Regions from separate parts of the Homo sapiens genome. Here regions 2, 3, 4, 5 and 6 are each linked to region 1. Evidence: promoter capture Hi-C in 16 types of primary human blood cells and fetal thymus (Javierre and others, 2016). All regions are on one chromosome and are shown on one strand. The core of a region is centred on a gene start or on the middle of the fragment in contact, and the rest is flanking DNA. Distances in the headings are between cores, read along the strand shown. Region 1 holds the start of SPZ1 (spermatogenic leucine zipper 1). Region 2 overlaps LOC105379048 (a long non-coding RNA gene). Region 3 holds the start of LINC01455 (long intergenic non-protein coding RNA 1455). Region 4 overlaps MSH3 (mutS homolog 3). Region 5 holds the start of THBS4 (thrombospondin 4). Region 6 overlaps THBS4 (thrombospondin 4).

Region 1 (3,374 bases), core at 258-2,757:
CTATCTTAGGCTGCTAGCTGACCTCATTTTTCCCCTAAGAGCTTTTCTTGCAACATGAATATTGAACTGGGTATTGCAAGCTTTCTTATTAAGACAAACATCCAGGCTTCTACAGGATCTGTCTTTTTTCCAAAATGTACCCTTCATTGCTTGCTTGTTCTGCTTATACATTTCTACTTTCTTTGCTTCTGATGGCTTCTGATTTTTCTTGTCCTGTTTATAGTTTATCTGAATTGGCTTCTCTTGCAGAGTTCCCTGTTTCTGATGATGGAGTTCCTTGAGAATCTCTACTCTCTGCTGTAAGATTTGGCATTCATTCTCTAGCAAAGCTGCCATCAACTGCAATGAATAGGTGTCATGGCTCAGTTTCTTCACCTGTTCCTCCAGCTCATGCTTAGCCGACACTTCATTATTTGGCTGGGTTTGGAAACCGACTCCATTATTTCCAAGAGTTTCACTTATGTCTTTCTGAGATTTCTGATAGGATTTTATCAGTTTACTGAGCTCAGTATGTTGTTTACTCCAGTGTTCTGCTTCCTGTAGTAACTGCTCCATGTTGTTCCTAATTTTCATAGTTTCTTCTTGAACATTAAGTCTGTTTTTTGCTTTTTCCTGACTTTGTTGAGTTTCGTTAAGGACTTTTTTTTCTTCTAAACGATTTACCAAATCTCTTGCAAAAACTTGTGCGGTGTTCTCAGAGTTCTGGTTTTCCATTATCATCTGCTGTTTCTTTTCATTGTCTTCTTTCTCTGGGGCTAAACTAACAGGCAGGTTTGTTGATAACATTTCATTGATTTTGTCAAGTCCTCTGATATTTTCTTTGTGGGCTGACACATCCTCAGTAATATTGGTTTCCAATATCATCTCCTGTTTCTTTTCATTGTCTTCTTTCTCTGGGGCTAAACTAACAGGCAGGTTTGTTGATAACATTTCATTGATTTTGTCAAGTCCTCTGATATTTTCTTTGTGGGCTGACACATCCTCAGTAATATTGGTTTCCTCAAAAAGTTCTTTTGCTTCTGTGATCTTCTCTTCAAAACCTGCCATATTTTTAAGAATATCTTTAATTTCTTTTAAGAGATTGTTAAACTTCTGTGCAGTCTGTTGTTCTGTAACTTGATGGCTGCTATTCTTTAGGAAAGGGAGAGAGCCCCAGGAGGAAGGGGAATGTGATCCAATTTCGAATAAGGCAATGGTAATCCTAGGGTCCAGATATTCTTGATGAGGATCAGGAGTAGGGTTAACGGTTTTGGAGATGGTGGGCATCTCAGCTGACTTAGCAGAGCTGGCCATCAGGACAGAAGGAAAGCAGAAAACTTTAGAGATTCCAGGAAGGACAGGTGATGGTCCTTTGTGCAAATGTGGGTGGAGACTGTGGAATCAAGCAGAAGTCAGAGACCAAAGTTAAGGATTAAAATTTGGGAGATGATGTTTAGGTGGAAGGTGGCATCTCAGACAGCCTTGTGGGGAGGAAGGGTGGGAAAGGGGACCAAGGCTGGGGCTCCATCTCTTCTCCTCTAGGCACCCGGTGTTTATTCTCTGGCCCTAGCAACCAGGTCTTTATTTTGTCACTGCACCATTGTGGCCTATCCATAGTGTCTGTCTCCTTTGTGTCACAATGGAAGCCTCTTAAATTCCTGCCCAGTGACTCCTGCATCAAAACCAACCTTGAGCTATCCCTACTCCTCATGCCAGAAAGAGCTCTACAATAGCTCTTCCCCTCCTTAATTTCTAGGTTGCTATTCATCTCAGTCTAAATGCACTCAGTTACTTCTCTACGTCACCTCTATCCCCTCACAATCCTGACCTCAACCGCAGCATGTTTTGACCACTTAAGGACATTGCTGAGACCAGTCCTCTCTGGTGAGGTCCCCATCCTTTCATAGCACCTAGAGGCTCTATTGCTCCCATTCTAGGAGAGATGTGACTGTAAGAGAAAGTTATCCACACAAAACAAAACCCTGAGAGTGACAGCCTTTTGTGATTTTAGGAAAGTAATGTCAGGAGTCCCTCCATTCAAAAATATTCTACTGCTCCAAGAAGGGACTATCTGAATGGTTATAATAGCAACACAATTACAAACTGGGACTTTTCTTGGCTTTGAATATAGGCATCCTTTAAGACAGGCTTGGCAAGCTTACTCACAAATCATTTACATCAGGTGATAGAAAACTTTGACTATTACTTTTCACAGTAACTTATTTGGGGATTTTTTTTTTGGCTCTTTTATTGATCCCCTAAGATTTCCACACTCTACACAGTAACTTGTTAAAATGACATAGTTATATTTCTAAAGTGTTTGATTAGAAGGGCATGGTAGTGTGTGCCTGTGGTCCCAGCTACTTGGGAGGCTGAGGCGAGAGGATCACTTGAGCCTGGGAGGTTGAGGCTGCAGTGAGCCATGACTGTGCTACTTAGTGCACTCCAGTTTGGGCAACACAGCAAGATCTATCACAAAAAATTAAAAAATTGGCCAGGTGCAGTGGCTCATGCCTGTAATCCCAGCACTTTGGGAGGCTAAGGCGGGCAGATCACTTGAGGCCAGGAGTTCAGGATCAGCCTGGGCAACATGACAAAACCCCATCTCTACTAAAAATGCAAAAATTAGCTGGGCATGGCAGCACACACCTGTAATCCCAGCTACTCAGAAGGCTGAGGCATGAGACTTGCTTGAACCCAGGAGGAGGAGGTTGCAGTGAGCTGAGATCGTGCCAGTGCACTCCAGCCTGGGTGACAGAACAAGACACTGCCTCAAAAAAAGAAATTAAAAATTAAAAAATAAAAAGCATTTGAAACAGGTAAATTCTCTAGTGGGTTATAGAAAGTAACAAGTTTATTAAACTTCTTGCATTTTAATAAGCTGCTTTCTTGTCTTTTTGTTCTTAGGAGTCAGGTCTTGTGAATATAGAACTCAATCAAAGAAACATTTCTTGTGTATGACTTTTTCCTGGCCTTCAAAATCTTGCTAGCAAGCACTTTAATAGAAATTTGCTTCCAGTCTTAAGGGAAAACTCATACTCAGGTTTTTTTTCCCCTAGAGAAGAGAAATTTATATGTTTTCTTTCTTCTCCAGTTACCAACTCATTTTGGCTCTAATTCCCCAGAGCCTCATGCTCATCTTTCAGCCAGCTGGGCTCCAGGCCATCGTCACTGACTACTCACAGATACAGCAGGGTTGGTCTCTGCTTTTACTTGAAAAAGGAACTCCTTTTCTAATTCACACAATGACAGCATAGATGCTAGCAACTGTCCTTATGCTTTAATTCCATCTTAGAAGTTCAGCATTGGTTCTTATTTCCCCCTTTGACTCAAGCATCATTTAAGACAATTTCTTAATCTCCAGCACAGGGGAATTTTTGATAATTAATTTCTAG
Region 2 (3,374 bases), core at 605-3,104, 450 kb after region 1:
AGGCTATGTGGCAAACAGGATTTAAGTTTTCAGGTGAAATTAAGCTTGCTAGTTAGCTGACCTTGCGATGGGAAGAGTACCCTGGACTATCCAGGTGGGCCCAATCTGACCACAAAGGTCCTTAAAAGTAGAAGAGGCGTCAAGCGCCATGGCTCACACCTGTAATCCCAGCACTTTGGGAGGCCAAGGCAGGCGGATCACCTGAGGTCAGGATTTCGACACCAGCCTGACCAACATGGTGAAACCCCATCTCTACTAAAAATACAAAAATTAGCTGGGTGTGGTGGTGCACGCCTGTAATTCCAGCTACTCGGGAGGCTGAGGCAGGAGAATTGCTTGAACCTGGGAGGTGGAAGGTGTGGTGAGCTGAGATCACACCACTGCACTCCAGCCTGGGTGACAGAGCGAGATTCCGTTAAAAAAAAAAAAGTAGAAAGCAGAAGACAGAGTTAGAAAAAGACAGTGGAAGCAGAGCCAGAGACATAATGTGCTGCTGGCATTGAAGACGGAGAGGAGCCATGAGCCAAGGAATGTGGGTGGCCTTAGAACAGAGGAAAGAGTCTTACAGCTCCAGAAAGGACTGCATCCCTGCTGACACCTTGACTGTGGTCTTGCAAGAACCAAGTCAGACTTCTGACCTACAGTGCTGGGAAATAATACATTTGTGTTGATTTAAGCCACTAAGTTTGTGGTAGTTTGTTGCAGCAGCAAATAGGCACCTAATACATGGGGGATACGAATAATTCAGTCTAAGTAGTCACTTCAGGAAAACTTTTCACCAGTTCTTCAACATTTAACATCACACTCTGCAGTTGCCACACTCAGGTATGACATCTTCCCCAAATCAACTTGCTTTACTTTGGCTTGACTAGAGGGTTTATCTTGGTAACTTCCTTGAAAACAAGGGAATCTGTGCCAACATTAAAGTGTCCATATCCAGAAACCCAAATGACAAGTTCCTTTTGCCAACGGTCCCCAAATGGCAGTGCCTTTGCTAAAATAACACACACTTTAGGTTGTTTTTCTCTAGGCACCCTGATACATCACAGCTATTTCTCCAAGTCATCTTCCCCGCATTCCCATTGCCACCATTGAGGTTCAGGCCAGCTTGTCACTTGCTTGAAGAATTGCCTTGCCCCAACTTTATTCCATTCTCAACACTAAAGTTGGAAGGCTCTTTCTAGAGTCTGATCAGCCTTCTGTTTGTAAGCATCAAAGACAGCCCACTGCTCTTAGGATAAAGTACACAACGCCCATGGCCTTCAGGGCTCTGTATGATTTAGCCCCTGGCCCTGTCTCCAGCCTCGTTTCCAGGACATGGAGAACCAGCATCAGCGTGCTTCAATCAAACATGCAGCCTCTGAGCACTTGACTGTCAAGCTGTGGAGTGGGTGGTGCAAAGCAGATTGCAATGGTTTTGTGGAATCCGGTCTGTGGGGCATAGCTCTAGCTGTTAAGGGTTGAATTGTATCCTCCCAAAATTCATATGTTGAAGTCCCAACTTTCAGTATCTCAGCATATGACCTTATTTGGAAAGAGGGTTGCAGATGTAGTTAGCTAAGATGGAGTCACACTAGAGTAGGGTGGGCCCCTAATTCAATATGACTGGTGTCCTTATGGAAAGGAGAAATTTGGCCACAGACAGGCATATGAGGGGCACACCACGTGGAGATTGGAGTTATGCTGCCAAGGGCCAAGGAACTACCTGAATCCCAGAGAGAGCCCTGGAACAGATCCTTCCCTAGCACCTTCAGAGGCAGCACGGTCCTCCCGACACCTTGGTCCTGGACTTCCAGTCTCCAGAACTGTGAGACCTTACATTTCTGTTGTTCTAAGTCACCCAGTCAGTCATACTTTGTTGCAGCAGCCCCAGGAAACTAATCTGGTTGAAATGTGGATACCAAAGTAGGGCTATGGGAGAGTAGCGAAGCTCGCATTTTCAGAGGTCCACAAAAATTATTAAAGTGAAGAATGAGAGTCGCTGCTCTTTATACAACATCATACTGCTTCTCAATTTCATGAAAACAAGTTGCTAAGAAGAATTTGTGAAAGGGGTGGGATCAGTCAGTTTGCCTTCTATGGGCCAATTTTGTTCTCCTCCTGAGAGATACTGCGGAGGACTCAATAACAACTCAATATTCTCAAAACATCAAACTTTCTGATGAGAACAAAGCATGGCTTTAATCTCTTTACTTTGCTCCTGATTCTTCTGCACAGTTGACCCTGATCCTCATGTTCTTTTAATTAAGACCAAAACGGACTTGACTCCTCAGTCCCAGTTAACAAGAGGTGAGGTCGGCTTGGCATGTCTGTGTTCCAAAAACTGCCCTGAGCAAAATGTGTGTATGAGAAAAGGCTTTGCCAGGGAAAGAGCAAGCCCGAGCAGCCACCCACCCCTTCCCAGTCAGCAAGACTCTCTTCTATTTGGGACCCAGGAGGCTCATCTGCAGGCAGCTGAGCCATCTCTTGGGAAGAAGGAGAAGAATGGGCCACAAGAGCCCCACTTGGGATGGGAGAAGCTAAAATGAAGCGCCAGGAACTGGGCCAAGGACTCAAGTTAGACTTGCTTATGGGACCGCAATCCCTGAGGGTCCTATTGGTGAGGCTGATGTGGCAAAGGCCTGGCTTAGCGTGAAGAAAGAGGAGGGGGAGAGAGGAGGACAAAAAAGAAGTGAGGGAGAGACCAAAAAGAAAGATGGAGGGAATGAGCCATCCGGTGCCTGATCCAACAATATTTCATCTGCAGGATCCTCCGTCCTCATCAGTCTGGCCACTCAGGAGCGGGCTTGTGCCCAGGCAACGTTGGCTTTCCATGTAGAAGGATTAGCCCGTGCCAGGTAAGGACTTCAGTCAAGGCCAACCCACCCCCCAAATACCATCACAACCACCCTGACATTTGCCTCAATTTTCTTTATTATTTGTTCCTATGGATTAGATCTTTGTCTTGGTACAAAAGTTGCATCTGAGACTTCTTGAATGTTTGCATGTTCCAGGCACTGTTCTAAGTACTCTGCATGAATTAACTGATTTCATCCACAATAGCTTTGTGAGGTAGGTACCATTATCATCATCTCCATATATCAGATGAGGAAACTGAGGTGCAAAGTGGCAGAGTAACTTGCTCAGGGTCATAAAGCTGGTAAGTGGTAAGGCCAGAATTTGAACCCAGTCTGGCTGGCTCCAGAGTTCACATTTTTTCCATTGCACTACACTAATTCCCAAAATGAAATCCAGTACATCAGGAAATTTACCACCAGGGCTTTCTAAACCATGTGTTGCTCCCTAATTGGGGCTCTTACGCTGAGAGTTTGTTTTGAAGATAATTAATGAGAAACATTTGGAACCCTGGCCTCTGAGCACCTCTCTGTAGTCCT
Region 3 (3,374 bases), core at 295-2,794, 380 kb after region 1:
CATCTGGGTGTTTGTGCCCTCTGGAGGGCCCAGGCCCATTAAGCCCACTGATAAATGGAACTCTAGGCCAGTGGTTTCTCAGACCCAAATTAGTAAAATATAAAAAACAAGTCGAGGCTGCACGCAGTGGCTCACGCCAGTAATCCCAGCACTTTGGTAGGCTGAGGTGGGCGGATCACTTGAGGTCAGGAGTTCAAGACCAGCCTGGCCAACATGACAAAACCCCCTCTCTACAAAAAATACAAAAATTAGCCAGGGGTGGTGGCGCATGCTTGTAATCTCAACTATTCAGGAGGATGAGACCTGAGAATCAGTTGAACCTGGGAGGCAGAGGTTGCAGTGAGCCGAGATCACACCCTACACTCTAGCCTGGGGGATAGAGTGAAACTCTATCTCAAAAACAACAACAACAAAAAACAAGTCAAGAGGGGACCTACATAGGGAGTCAACTTTTAATTTTGCCAAATGACAGATTAACTAAAAACAAAAACCAAAAGCCCCTCTGTCATATCTTTATCATAGCTGAACTTGTTGACCCCAAGTAAGTGATCAAAACATAATCTGGCTTTGGGAGGCTGAGGCGGGAGGATCATGAGGTCAGGAGTTTGAGACCAGCCTGGCCAATATGGTGAAATCCCGTCTCTACTAAAAATACAAAAATTAGCCCGGCATTGTGGCATGCCCCTGTAATCCCATCTACAGGAGGCTGAGGCAGGAGAATCAGTTGAACCTGGGAGGTGGAGGTTGCAGTGAGCCAAGATTGTGCTACTGCACTCCAGCCTGGGCGATGGAACGAGACTCTGTCTCAAAAAAACAAACAAACAAAAAAAAAGAGTTAAGAAAAAGAAAAAAGCATAACCTCAATTGTTTTTTTCCCAAAATGTGTTAGCAATTTCATTCTCTCTCTCTGTCTCTCCCTGTCCATCCATCCATCTACCTATCCTTTCATCCATCTATCCATCTATCTATCTATCCACATATAAATAATTATTCTTGTTTGTCTCACTTCACTTTAGACTTGTAAAAATTTCATCATGAATGAGTCACTACTCCCGCCTTCCCTCTTTGCTGGGTGCATATCCCTGCAGCACTAGTGTTGAAAGGTATATAATTTCATGGGCTCCTGGAAGAACCAGAAGACATAGCACACCCCTGCCTCAATGGAAGTCTGACATCTCCGTGTGGTGGTGGGTGGGGCAGGGAAGGGGGTGGACAAGGGGGAAATGCTAGCACCCTACTCACCATGATGAAGAATCAGCATGGGTTTGAGACGCACCTTATCCCAGGTGCTTGCCTGAAACATTCTCAAACAGCCCACACATTCCTCTTTTTCTCCCACCTACTCTCCAGTTTTCTCTTATCCATCTCCCCACTTCTTCCTGCTCCTACCAGTATAGTGATTCATAGAGCAGTATTTATACTAAATATGTTGTCATTAACAAATCCTCAACCATCTTGGTCTTTGCCTTTAAAATTCAGATATTAAAAATTATATATAGTCTGTTTGGAGAGACGGATAAGCCAAAATTATTTTCTGCAGTTGCAAAGCATGCAACTTCTATTCATCATCTTTATGTTTCTGTTATGTCAGTGGAGTGTGGTCATAATCCCAGACTGGTTACTGAATACACAAAATGATTTAACTTCTGAAGGGATTACCTCAACCCAGAGCTCCGGTTCTTATTAGCAAATGGGAAAAGCTGGAAATGCTAATAAGTGGGATAATTGAAATAGATTGGGACTCTCTCGGGTATTTGCAGGTGTGGAAATATGAACAATGTAATCATTTAATTGTAAGGAAACTGCTAAATAACTTCCACCCCAAATTACTGAGACTACGTAGATAGAGCTGGGGAGAGCTTGAAGGGAGAGCCAGAGAAGGCTGTGGATTTGGTGTGCTGTGGAAACTCAGGCAGGGTTTCACAATCCTCAAGCAGCTGGGGGCTGATGTGAATCAGAAAATGCCTCCACCCTACACCCTAGCACTATTGAGGGCTTGATTTCACACAACTCTTGAAATTGAAATCATGAGGAGAAAGACATCTCTTTTCTTTCTCTTTTTCCTTTTTTTTAAGGTCAGAATTAACATCAAAAGTTCACTTTGTTTAAAAATGGAAACAGTTCCAGTTTTGTTTAGTTTTTTTGTTTTTTTTTTAACAAGCAACCTTGAGTTGAGAGATTGTAATTGGCAGTCTTCCCACTCCTCCTCAAGCCCAGTTTGACCTATTTTAAAACCCTAATTTGCTTCTTTGGAGGCCAGGAGGCATAATATACAGGTGATTTTTTCCTGCTCAGTTTTCCCACCCATCTGCCAAGGTAGTACATGATGGAAGGAAGACAATCGCAAGTCTAGGCTCCCAGGCTGGGCTGGGAGTAGGAGAAACAGAAGAGGCATTAGCTCTGGCTGGCGCTGGTGGGGCAGGGCTGTGCAGCCAGGCCGAGGGAGCAGTAGCGAAGCTAAGCTGTCTGAGGTGAGATCTGGGTTAGGGGCATGGCAGCAATCTATAAAATATGTTAAAAGATTCCTGGAAATGGAATGGGATGGAGAAAATAGTATTTCCCATAGCTCTTTTTCAGGAAGAGAAATGGAACAATCACTTCATCAGCTGCTGGAGGGTAATTAAAGGGGAGATGTTGAGATAGTTAAGGGGCTTTTTCAAGTAAAACTTACACGAAGGGCTTATTGCCCGAGCAGAGGATGCAAGCTGAGGCCAGAGCTGAACTGCTTACACCCATAGATGAGAGGCAGAATGCCACCACCAGGAAGCCTCCATATTCACCAGTCTGCCACACAGAGCTGCTCATTAGTCTTCTTCTCTAAATAGATGTTGAATAAATCTTTCATTGATTTGAAGAGATTCCAAACCACTCAGGACCCACACAGGCCTGAGATGGCCTGGCTTGAAGTTCCGTGGTGGTGGGATGAGCAGAGACCACTGAATCCCCGGAATGGCTGTGAATTCAGAGATGGGATCTAAAGGGAGGGGATTAGTCTGTGACAAGTCAAAATAAGCTACAGAACAAGCTGTTCCAAGGGACAGGCTTAACACATCAAAGTCACATGCCAGTGGCCAGACCTCATGGACCTGAGAGCTGCCCCCTTTCTACAGGGGAGAAGCTTTAATTCATGTATGGGCACCCCAGGAGCTTCTCAGAGATTGTGATATTCTAGTTGGTTCACATAGATTGTGATGTGATGAGCTTAAACCTCTCCATCATTCCTCCAAAGTGCTCTGTCTGGACTCGCAGGGACTGCCCTCAGGTGAATAAGAGGGTTAGTTAAGAGCAGTCCACATTGTATGGAGAGACTTTTCTCCAATGACAGCACCTGGAAAATTTGGGCTGTTGTTCCTGGCTGAATTCACAATTAGGCA
Region 4 (3,374 bases), core at 524-3,023, 360 kb before region 1:
TCAAACAAATTCAGTAAAGTTGCAGGACACAAAATCAACATACAAAAAACCAGCAGCATTTCTATATGCTAACAGTGAACAATATGAAAAAGAAATCAAAAAAGTAATCCCATTTACAATAGCTACAAATAAAATAAAATATCTAGGAGTTAACCAAAGAAGTGAAAGATCTCTACAATGAAAACTATAAAACACTGATGTAAAACATTGAAGAGAACACACAAAAAAGGGAAAGATATTACATGTTCATGAATTGGAAGAATAGTTCAAACATCCATACTACCCAAAGCAATCTACAGATTCAACGCAATCCCTATCAAAATATCAGTGACATTTTTCACAGAAATGGAAAAAATTAGCCTAAAATGTATATGAGCAACGAAAGACTCAGAATAGCCAAATATATCCTAAGCAAAAAGGACAAAATTGGAGGTATCACATTACCTGACTTCAAATTATACTACAGAGCTATAGTAACCAAAATGGCATGGTACTGGCATAAAAACAGACACACAGACCACTGGAACAGAACAGAAAACCCAGAAATAAATCCATACATCTACAGTGAACTCATTTTTGACAATGGTGCCAAGAACATACACTGAGGAAAGAATCTTTTCAACAAATGGTGCTGGGAAAACTGGACATCCATATGCAGAACAATGAAACTAGACCCTATCTCTCACCATATACAAAAATCAAATCAAAAATGGATTAAAGACTTAAATCTAAAATGTCACACTATGAAATGACTAAAATAAAACATTGGGGAAACTCTCCAGAACACTGAACTGGGCAAAGATTTCTTAATAGGGCAACCAAAGCAAAGATGGACAAATGGGATCACATGAAGTTAAAAAGCTTCTGCACAGCAACAGAAACAATCAACAAAGTGAAGAGACAACCCATGGAATGGAAGAAAATGTATGTAGACCACCCATGTGACAAGGGATTAATAACCACAATATATAAGGAGCTCAAACAACTCTACAGGAAAAATCTAATTATCCAATTTAAAAATAGACAAATTGAATAGACATTTCTCAAAAGAAGACATACAATGGCAGCCTGGTATGTGAAAAGCTCTCAACACCATCGTTCATTACAGAAATCCAAATCAAAACTACAATGAGATACCATCTCACCTCAGTTAAAATGGCTTTTATCCAAAGACATGCAATAATAAATGCTGGTGAGGATGTGGAGAAAAGGGAACCCTCACAGACTGTTGGTGGGAATGTAAATTAGTACAACCACTATGGAGAGTAGTTTGAAAAAAAACTACCAAAAAACTAAAAATAGAACTACCACATGATCCAGCAATCCCACTGCTAGATATATACTCAAAAGAAGGGAAATCAGTATATAGAAGAGATATGTGCACTCCCATGTTTACTACAGCACTATTCACAAGAGCTAAGATTTGCGAGCACCCAGGTGTCTGTCAGCAGACAAATGGGTAAAGAAAATGTAGTACATATATACAATGGAGTAGCATTCTGCCATGAAAAGGAATGAGATCCTGTCATTTGCAACAACATGGATGGAACTGGAGGTCATTATTTTACATGAAATAAGCCAGGCACAGAAAGATAAACTTTGCATGTTCTCACCTACTTGTGGGAGCTAAAAATTAAAACAACTGAACTCATGGAGATAGAGAGTAGAAAGATGGCTACCAGAGGCTGAGAAGGGAACTGGGGATGGTTAATGGGTACAAAAAAAATAGAAAGAATAAGACCTAGCATTTGATAGTGCAACAGAATGACTACAGTCAAAAATCATTTAATTGTACATTTTAAAATAACTAAAAGAGTATAATTGGGTTGTTTGTAACACAAAGGATAAATGCTTGAGGAGATGGATACCCCATTTACCCTGATGTAATTATTATGCATTGTATGCCTGTATGAAAGTATCTCATGTAACCCATAAATATATACATCTATTATGTACCTACAAAAAACTTTAGCCATGCCTGGCTAATTTTTGTATTTTTAGTAGAGATGGGGTTTCACCATGTTGGTCAGGCTGGTCTCGAACTCCTGATCTTGTGATCCGCCTGACTTGGCCTCCCAAACTGCTGGGATTACAAGCATAAGCCACTGCGCCCAGCCACAGAAAATTTAATTAAAATATAAAAAAAAAAACTTCCTCTTACAGAGAGCCTTCTACAGCAGGTACTATTTCAGGCGCTTTACCTATATTAACTTATTTAATCCTCACAACAACCCCATGAGGTAAGCACTCTTAATACCCCCAATATAAAGGACACTGAAGGACAATACAGTAGATAACTTACTCAAAGTCACTAAAGGGAAGAGCTAGTTTTCCAACTCAAACCCTGAGTCACAAGAGTCCACACTGTTTGACCCCTGCTAACTTTTGAATTTCCTCTACTTCATTCTGTCCATAGATATAAATTAGCTGTAGGAACTCCACAGAAATGCAGATTTAACTTTTGACTTCGCTTAGTCCAATATGCAAATAAAGTGAAAATGATCAAAGGATACAAAAAAAAGTGCAAAGATTGAAAAATTACACACGGTCAGTAAACATAGAGAAAATTATTTACAATGCTAACTAGAGAAATTCAAATTAAAATAAGACAAAAGCAGGCATTAAATTTGGTAAAACCCACATAAGACACCTAAATTATCTTTGATATGCCAAATTCAAGCTTTTAAATCTCATGTGATGAACAAACATTTAGGAATATCACCAGTCAATGAATGCTGCTTGACAAACAAAAATTCACTTTTGACAATGTCATTATGAAATATTTTGATATTTTATTGAATTTCGCCATTGTTATTTTATAAAATTAAGCAGAAAACAAAAAAATGAATGTGTTGATAAAATTGATTGACTTTACTCAATCTAAATTAATAAAATATATACTAAGTTAATAAAATATATACTAAGTTAATAAAATATAAAGAAAAATGAACTAAATCAAAGACAGGAAATCATAATTTATCCATTTATCATAATTTATCATAATTTATCCATTCCATTTCTATATTCATTTTTTCAGTATTACAAATACTGTTATGATGAATATCCATATATAGAAATATTCATGTGCATTTCTGATGATTTCCTTAAGATAAATTCCTGAAAATGGAATTAACTGGATCAGAGGGTATGAATGTTTATAAAGCTCTTGATCACCATTTCTCATATTACCATTTCTAGCAAGGAAATGATAGGAAATATTGAAAATACAATATAGAAGCCTACCTTTAAAAATTTTTTTCCAGATTTTATTAATTTTTTTAGTTCTGTAAAAGCAGCTCTCCTTACAAGTTTACTGTTTGACTTTTAATTATTCAAGTTTGAACACATGGTCAGAAAAGGATTAAGATCAAAAT
Region 5 (3,374 bases), core at 502-3,001, 280 kb after region 1:
TCTTGATTCTTCCTTTGACTATGATCAGGTTCATGATGTAACTCAAGCTAAACTTGCGGTATTTCAATCTATGGTTCGTCTGATTCATTTGCATCTCTCTCAAGCGGCAGAGATGGGATTAGTTAGTAATGAACATAGAGAGTGTTTTGAAAAGGAAATGAGACACTACCATTTTCTATTAATGTTATTACGTTTAAGTGCCAGGATCAAAGCACAACCCTCTACTGTTAGAGGTGAAATTACTGCTACCAATGAGCGCAGCTACCATGGTATGTAAATTGAATATATACTAATTTAAGACCAACAATGAAGCTCAGGGGAAGAAGGAGATAATCAAATTATCCTGTTAAGCCTGATAATTGCAGACTAGATAATGCAATAAAAGAATCTATCAGAAACTTAACTTAATCAGATCATCTACAGCAACTAAATTACCCAGATAATTTAGGTTGTATAGGCCGAGTTCAAATCTCCATAAAATGGTCAGGTATGTCTGAGACATACCTAAGGCACACCATAAAGCTGTATGTTCAAAAGTCAAGAACGTATATAACACAAAAAAATTATACCTATAAATTTGAACTTGCCAAATATCATCACAATAAGACTTTTGAAGTGTTTAAAAGCTTCCTTTTTTACCTTCCTAGAAGTATGGGGCACGGACTACAGCATTTCAAATACTTCAACACAAACTAAAAGTTAGCAGTACTCTAACCCCTGAAACCACAGTTCTGGTTGTCTGGTCTGGAATGAAAATGAGTTATTTGGCGAAATGCAGTTTAAATGGGTGATTCCAGCAGCGAGAGGCAGGGAAGTTGAGAACGCCCTCATAGGCAGTCTTTGCTCTGGCTACAAGAGGAAAAACAACTTTTACTTCAAGTTGTGCGTCTCTTCCAGTTTTACTTCCACAGTCAGTAATAAATCAACCCAGGCACCAAGTTCAAACAGATGAAGCTCACGCCTGACCAGTTAGGGCCAGTTATAGCCCTAAGATCTTTCTTTGCTTAAATCATGTCTTCCTTTTGGTCTTTACAAAAAATTCTGTTTAACTGCTTTCTACCCAATGGCTATTTCACCCCATTTCACCAAGGGGTTTGAGGATTGTCCAAGTATCTTTTCACATTATTTGTTGAATTTTTACCGTTTCATAGAAAAAGATCAATTTCTTTCTTTTTTCTTTTTAAATTATAGATTCAGAGGGTACATGTGCAAGTTTGTTACATGGGTGCATTGCATAAGGTGGGATTTGAGCTTCTAGTGAACACATCACCCAGTGAACGTAGTACCCAATTGGTAGTTTTCCCAACCTTCCCCCCTACTTTTGGAGTCCCCAGTGTCTACTGTTTCCATCTTTATGTCCATATCTATCCACTGCTTAGCTCCCGCTTGTGAGAACATGGTATTTGCTTTTCTGTTCCTGCCTTAATCCACTTAGGAAAATGGCCTCCAGCTGCATCCATCTTGCTGCAAAGAACTGATTTCATTGAAAAAGACCAGTTTCTCAGCCCTTCCTATTTACCTCAGAAATTAAGACATCAAGCCAATCCTTGAAATAAACTTTCTTTTTGTCGTTCAAGCAAAGTCAGAGCAGAAAATGCAGGTGGCAGGGCAAGTAGAGTAATTCTGCGTCTTTCTCAGGGATGTCAAGAGCAGACTCTGGGCATACATCGCTCCGCCTGAGGAAGGATTTAGGGAGCAAGGCTGCCTGGAGGGAACCGGCACAGGGTGCAGGACCCGGAATTCACCCTACACCAGAGCCTAACATGTTAAGAGGTCTAGGACCGTGTAGCAAGTTTTGAAGGCAACCCCACCCCACATCTTTGCATAGTCTGAAACAATTTTGCATCCCCCAACTATTTAGGCAATTGTTCTCATCATTGGATAATCGAATTTCGGAAAATTCTAGACTAATCACTACCTCCAATCACAATATGCTTTGATTGGGCCCGGGAGGGACAGAGAGGGGCTGAGCAAGGCCACAGGAGCACAGGGCCGAGCAAGTCCCTCCACTCACTCAGCAGATGGGGCACCCGGTGCCCGGCGCTCCCAGGCCCGACCCGAACCCACTTACCCTGGGGGGTGGCCTGGGCGCCTGCCGCTAGCCACCGCTGCAGGACCAGGTGCAGCAGGAGGACGGCGGCTCCGCGCGGGGCCAGCATGTTGGCTCTTCCTGCTCCCCGCGAGGCCGGGGGCGACGGCGGCGTTGGCCCCGCCTGGGGGTCCCCGGGCCGTGCGTTGAACCTCGGTCGGCGCCCGGGCCGGCGCCGCAGGTGACCCGTGCTCGGCGTCCGGGCTGCCGTCGGGGGCGCGCTCGCGTCCCCGCCGTGCGGTGCTGGGGAGCTGGCTGCTGGGCTCCGCGGCAGCGGCCGGGCGCTTTATGGTGCGGCCGGGCGGGGGAGGGCCGGGGCGGGGGCGGCCCCCTTGGCGGGATCCCCTGTCCTGGGAAGAGCTGGGCAGCTGGAGCAGCGAGCCGGGGCCGCAGGGAGAAAGGCGCGGGTGTGAGGATGGGAAGGAGCCTGGACGGACCAGGTCCTGGGGTGGGTGTAGACACGGCCCCGACGCGCGAGGGTAGGGGCGAAGATGGGCAGTCGGGGCTGGAGAGAAAGGGGTGCTGAGCAGAGACCACAGGGGAGAAAGGAGCGGGAGGAAAGGGGCGAAAGGGAGGAAGAAAGTGACACTGACCCACTAGCTTTGGGCACCTTCAGTCCCCTACTCCTTGCGCTCCTTTTGTTTTCTAAAAAGAAGAATATCCTTTGGATCGGCTTTGAATGCCCACCTTGGGTTCCCTTGCGAATGAATCCTGAAGTTCTCCAGGAACGCTCTGCCTCCTAAAGTGGCCCAGAGAGCAGCGAGTTTCTTTTATTTCTTCAAGCTTTTCTTGAATACTTGAAAGGCTGAATTTTTTTCTCTATCATTTTGAGACACAGTGAAAGTTTGAAAGTTGTTGTGTTTTTAATGGAGATAAAACACATCTCAAGGAATCCATCCAGACAGAGCCATTTCTAGGCTGGTGAATCTGTGCTTTATGGATAATTCGTTTTCAGTATGGTTTCCAAACGCCCTGCTTGCCCACCTCTATTCCTCTGTCACCAAAGATTCCGTGTGACAGTTTAAAGGTACGGGAGTAGAACTTGAAAGAGATCGGAGGAACGCAAGTAATTCGTCCTTTTCCTGGGCAAAGCTCCCGGAATGATATGGATTAACTAGAGGAAAAAATATTTGATAAACAGTGGCAAAAATTTCTCCTCTGTAACAATCTCGACTAATGGAGAACATCCAGCAAAGTATTGCTATCTCTTTTATGTCTCAAATAATTCCATTTCAAAGTTTAATAAGCCACAAACTGGGAGATTAATGCACCATTTTATCCCCAA
Region 6 (3,374 bases), core at 594-3,093, 260 kb after region 1:
TAAAAACCAGATGCAGTTCAGTGAAATGTATGCAGTTGTTTCTCCAATTGAGGGATTACTAGAGACCGTCTTAATTGCTTACTACTAGCGAAGGTAATCAGCTGAGTGTTACTAACATTACCATGGGCCTGCAGGAGCCCCAGGGAGTCAGTGTGCCTAAGTTATGTACCTGCATCTCTCCCCTGCGCTTCTCCTTTCAGCCTTCCTTGGGCTGGGTGGGAGGAGAAAGGCACATTGAAGGCACATTTTGGTGGCAGCCTTGCTACCTGCTATGAACATTGCTTTGCAACTGGACTGGTGATTGCCTAACCATGTTTTTTTTTGTTTGTTTTTTTGAGACAGGGTTGTGCCCAGGCTAGAGTGCAGTGGTGCCATCATGGCTCACTGCAGCCTCAACCTCCTGCCTCAGGCAATCCTCCTGCTTCATCTTCCAGAGTAGCTGGGACCACAGGCACATGCCACCATGCCCCAGTAATTATCATATTTTTTGTAGAGATAGGGTTTTGTCTTGTTGCCCGGGCTGGTCTCAAACTCCTGGGCTCATGTGATCCTCCTGCCTCAGCCTCCCAAAGTGTTGAGATTGCAGGCTTCAGCCACTAGGCTGGCCTGCCTAACCAGGGTCTTGAAACAGTCTCTTCTGGGGCTCTGCCAGCCGGTCAAATAGCTGGTATTTGCTGGATGTGCCTCCTCTGGGGCCCTCCCTGGGCACGTTTAGTTACTCATAGGTTACAGGGCCTCCCCCTTGTTGGTGTGAGATTCCCCTCTGCTCCTTTATTTTAGGAAGCCTGAAGAAATCCACGGTGACTCCTGAAATATACCCTTAGAAAAATCCTCCCCTTCCACATTTGCAAAAGTGGGGGAAAAACAAAATTGTAGCACAGACTATTTAAGAGAAATAACCAATGCAAATGTCAGCGTGTAAAGCAGAAACCTCAGCACTGTAGCCAATGGACCAGTAGAAGAGTTGGAAACACAGAGGAAAAATGACAAACGCAGCCATAACCTTGGGTCATGTCTCCTTCCGCCATCCCTTGTCTCAGGGTCTCCAAGCAAGTGGTTTCAATGGAGCCTGGAGGACAGCCCAAGTCAGCCCTTAATCATCAGCTTGGCTTCTTTTTCCAAAAGCTGCAGGGTGAGGAGGATACTTAGGGATCCCCTCCCAGTCTAAGTGAACTTTTACCTCATCAACATCAATACAGGTGATCCCGTTTCCTGTGTAGCCCTCGGGGCAGGGCCCACACTGGAAGCCATCTCTACTGTCGGTACATTGGACACCTCGGAAACATGGGTTGGAGTCACACCGACGAGGTGGGCGTGTTGGCGGTGCAGGGGGAGCCGGGGGCACCACCGTGCTTGGGGTCGGAGACTGAAACTTGAGAGGACCTAGAGAAAAACAATCATCCACAGGCGTATTCACCGCCAGGAAGATATACAGAAGGCAAAACAAAATTTGGTTTCCTATTGAACTTTTCCTCCCTCCCCTCCAACTATGTGGTAGACCTTCAGAAACTGCGGTCAACACAGCCTCACCGCAAGCCCTTCATCAGCCTGCATCATCCAACTCAGGCGAGCCCATTACTAGAAAAGCACTTACCGCAAGCCTGGCATTCAGCTATGGTGTTTCGCAAAAATGATGTTTCCTTAACCTTTAAAAATGAGAAGGGGAAAAAAGGATTGAAAAGGAATGCCTGATATCATCCAGGAATGAAAGAATCCATGTGGAGCTATCTATGTAACACTTTTTTTTTTTTTTTTTTTGAGACAGTCTCAGTCTGTCGCCCAGGCTGGAGTGCAGTGGCACGATCTCAGCTCACTACAACCTCCGCCTCCTGGGTTCCAGCAATTCTCCTGCCTCAGCCTCCTGAGTAGCTGGGATTATAGGCATGCACCACCATGCCTGGCTAATTTTTGTATTTTTAGTAGAGACGGGGTTTCACCATGTTGTTCAGGCTGGTCTCGAGCTCCTCACCTCGTGATCTGCCCACCTCAGCCTCCCAAAGTGCTGGGATTACAGTCATGAGGCACCGCACCTGGCTCTCTGTAACACTTCTTACAGTAGCGTTAGCAGCCCTTGATGGCTCCCGCTCTGCTTAGAGCCATGGTGTGTTCATCACGAGCTTGGACCCCATTTCCAGAGAACTTCCAGCAGAGCCCTGGCGTGCGGGGCTGCGTGGGCCCCCGGAGATCTGGCTCAGAGGCTGCCCCCGTGCCTGGGCAGGCCTGCAGCTCCACTAGCTTGTGGGGAGCTGCTCTAAGAAGACGAGGGCTTTTCTGATGATATGTCCCGCTTGTTACCTGCTGTCTCAGAAGGTCCTTCACCTCTCCCAGGAGTTGGTTTAATTGTGTCATTTGACCCAAGAACTGCCGGTTAAAGTCCCCTGTAGGAACAGCAAAAGGCAAAGAGTTTTCAGCCAGTGATGGTCATTTCTAAGTGACTCAAAACCAAATTATTCCCCAGGAAATCATCCTGACAAGATGATTCAAAAACCCAGAATCTTTGAATTTAATTTGGGGTAATTTCTTTAATTCAGCTAAAAAAAATAATGATAATGATGCCACTGACTAAGTCTAAATTCCATGTGAATCATAAAAATAAAAGCATAATGAAAATATTCTGTGCCCTGGATTTTGTTCAAGAGACTGATTTTCATAGATACGTTTTGTTGGGCTGCTCTGTTGACAGTCCCACTTTTCGGTGATGGGACCCAGCCTATTCAGGGTCTTTGGAGTTTGTGTTGATGAAGGCATGCAAACTGCCCAAGAGCCCACACCTGTGCCTGTGGCAGCCAGTGGCTCACTCTGCTGCAGGAAGCAGTCTTGCAGGCTGGCCACCTGGAACAGTGAGCCTCTCACCACCAGCTTCAGCTCTTCCAAGAAGTCCTGGAAGAAATCACATTCATACCACAGATTGCTGACACTGTTCAAAAGCCAATGTGCTTGCCTACTCACGCAATTTTCATAATCAAGTAGTCCTGTATACTTGGACCCTCTGACATCTTACATAATTTTGTAGGATCACATTTTTTCCTAAAGCCTGCCAGCCCTATCTTTTTGACTAAAGTGAATATGTAAGTAGCCAGTAGCCTAGGAAAATGCTGGCATTGTCACCAAGACAGCTGAGAAAACGAAAGGCTCTTTTCCTACATGGTAAAGGAGTTATTTTGTGGCAGGAGCCTCTTAAGAATTGTCTGTAATTTGTTTATGGAATTTAGATAATAATAAATAAGGTGTTAACCCCAATTTTAAACAGTATTATTTTTTGGTTGTCTTGGCTCAAGGGTCTAGCAAAGCCTCTGACTTCTTTGGGATATGAGAATGAATAAATGATATCTTCTATGATCATTAGGTAGTTGGCATCATATTTTTATATTACG

Evidence for each region. Contacts are between HindIII fragments. The CHiCAGO score rates a contact against its expected background, and 5 or more counts as called.
Region 2: a fragment that was not itself captured here is called in contact with the fragment with the promoter of SPZ1 in region 1 in 1 of 17 cell types (activated CD4 T cells); the score reaches 5.0 in activated CD4 T cells.
Region 3: a contact is called between the fragment with the promoter of LINC01455 here and the fragment with the promoter of SPZ1 in region 1, in 11 of 17 cell types (naive CD4 T cells, endothelial precursors, activated CD4 T cells and 8 more). The highest score is 11.0, in naive CD4 T cells.
Region 4: a contact is called between a fragment that was not itself captured here and the fragment with the promoter of SPZ1 in region 1, in 1 of 17 cell types (neutrophils). The highest score is 5.3, in neutrophils.
Region 5: a contact is called between a fragment that was not itself captured here and the fragment with the promoter of SPZ1 in region 1, in 7 of 17 cell types (neutrophils, non-activated CD4 T cells, monocytes and 4 more). The highest score is 6.8, in neutrophils.
Region 6: a contact is called between a fragment that was not itself captured here and the fragment with the promoter of SPZ1 in region 1, in 10 of 17 cell types (neutrophils, non-activated CD4 T cells, activated CD4 T cells and 7 more). The highest score is 13.3, in neutrophils.

The regions. Positions count from the first base shown.
Region 1 is chr5:80,318,135-80,321,508 of GRCh38, reverse strand. It overlaps SPZ1 (spermatogenic leucine zipper 1), which reads right to left and starts at 1,507. Exons shown (of 1, transcript NM_032567.4): 1 at 1-1,507. The coding sequence starts at 1,293. The coding sequence ends at 1. The HindIII fragment of the contact is 2,056 bases long and covers 83-2,138 here.
Region 2 is chr5:79,866,476-79,869,849 of GRCh38, reverse strand. All of the region lies in intron 1 of LOC105379048 (a long non-coding RNA gene), which reads right to left. Among named protein-coding and RNA genes, the nearest start is that of LINC01455, 68 kb to the left of the region's middle. The HindIII fragment of the contact is 3,615 bases long and covers 47-3,374 here.
Region 3 is chr5:79,934,749-79,938,122 of GRCh38, reverse strand. LINC01455 (long intergenic non-protein coding RNA 1455) reads right to left here and starts at 1,544. Exons shown (of 3, transcript NR_131226.1): 1 at 1,243-1,544. The region is part of intron 2 of LOC105379048 (a long non-coding RNA gene); the gene reads right to left. The HindIII fragment of the contact is 4,387 bases long and covers 1-3,120 here.
Region 4 is chr5:80,681,181-80,684,554 of GRCh38, reverse strand. All of the region lies in intron 8 of MSH3 (mutS homolog 3), which reads right to left. Among named protein-coding and RNA genes, the nearest start is that of DHFR, 28 kb to the right of the region's middle. The HindIII fragment of the contact is 1,819 bases long and covers 864-2,682 here.
Region 5 is chr5:80,034,323-80,037,696 of GRCh38, reverse strand. THBS4 (thrombospondin 4) reads right to left here and starts at 2,349. Exons shown (of 22, transcript NM_003248.6): 1 at 2,072-2,349. The coding sequence starts at 2,159. The HindIII fragment of the contact is 2,246 bases long and covers 629-2,874 here.
Region 6 is chr5:80,057,712-80,061,085 of GRCh38, reverse strand. THBS4 (thrombospondin 4) reads right to left here. Exons shown (of 22, transcript NM_003248.6): 4 at 2,772-2,880; 5 at 2,296-2,378; 6 at 1,595-1,646; 7 at 1,181-1,383. Among named protein-coding and RNA genes, the nearest start is that of THBS4, 24 kb to the right of the region's middle. The HindIII fragment of the contact is 5,569 bases long and covers 1-3,374 here.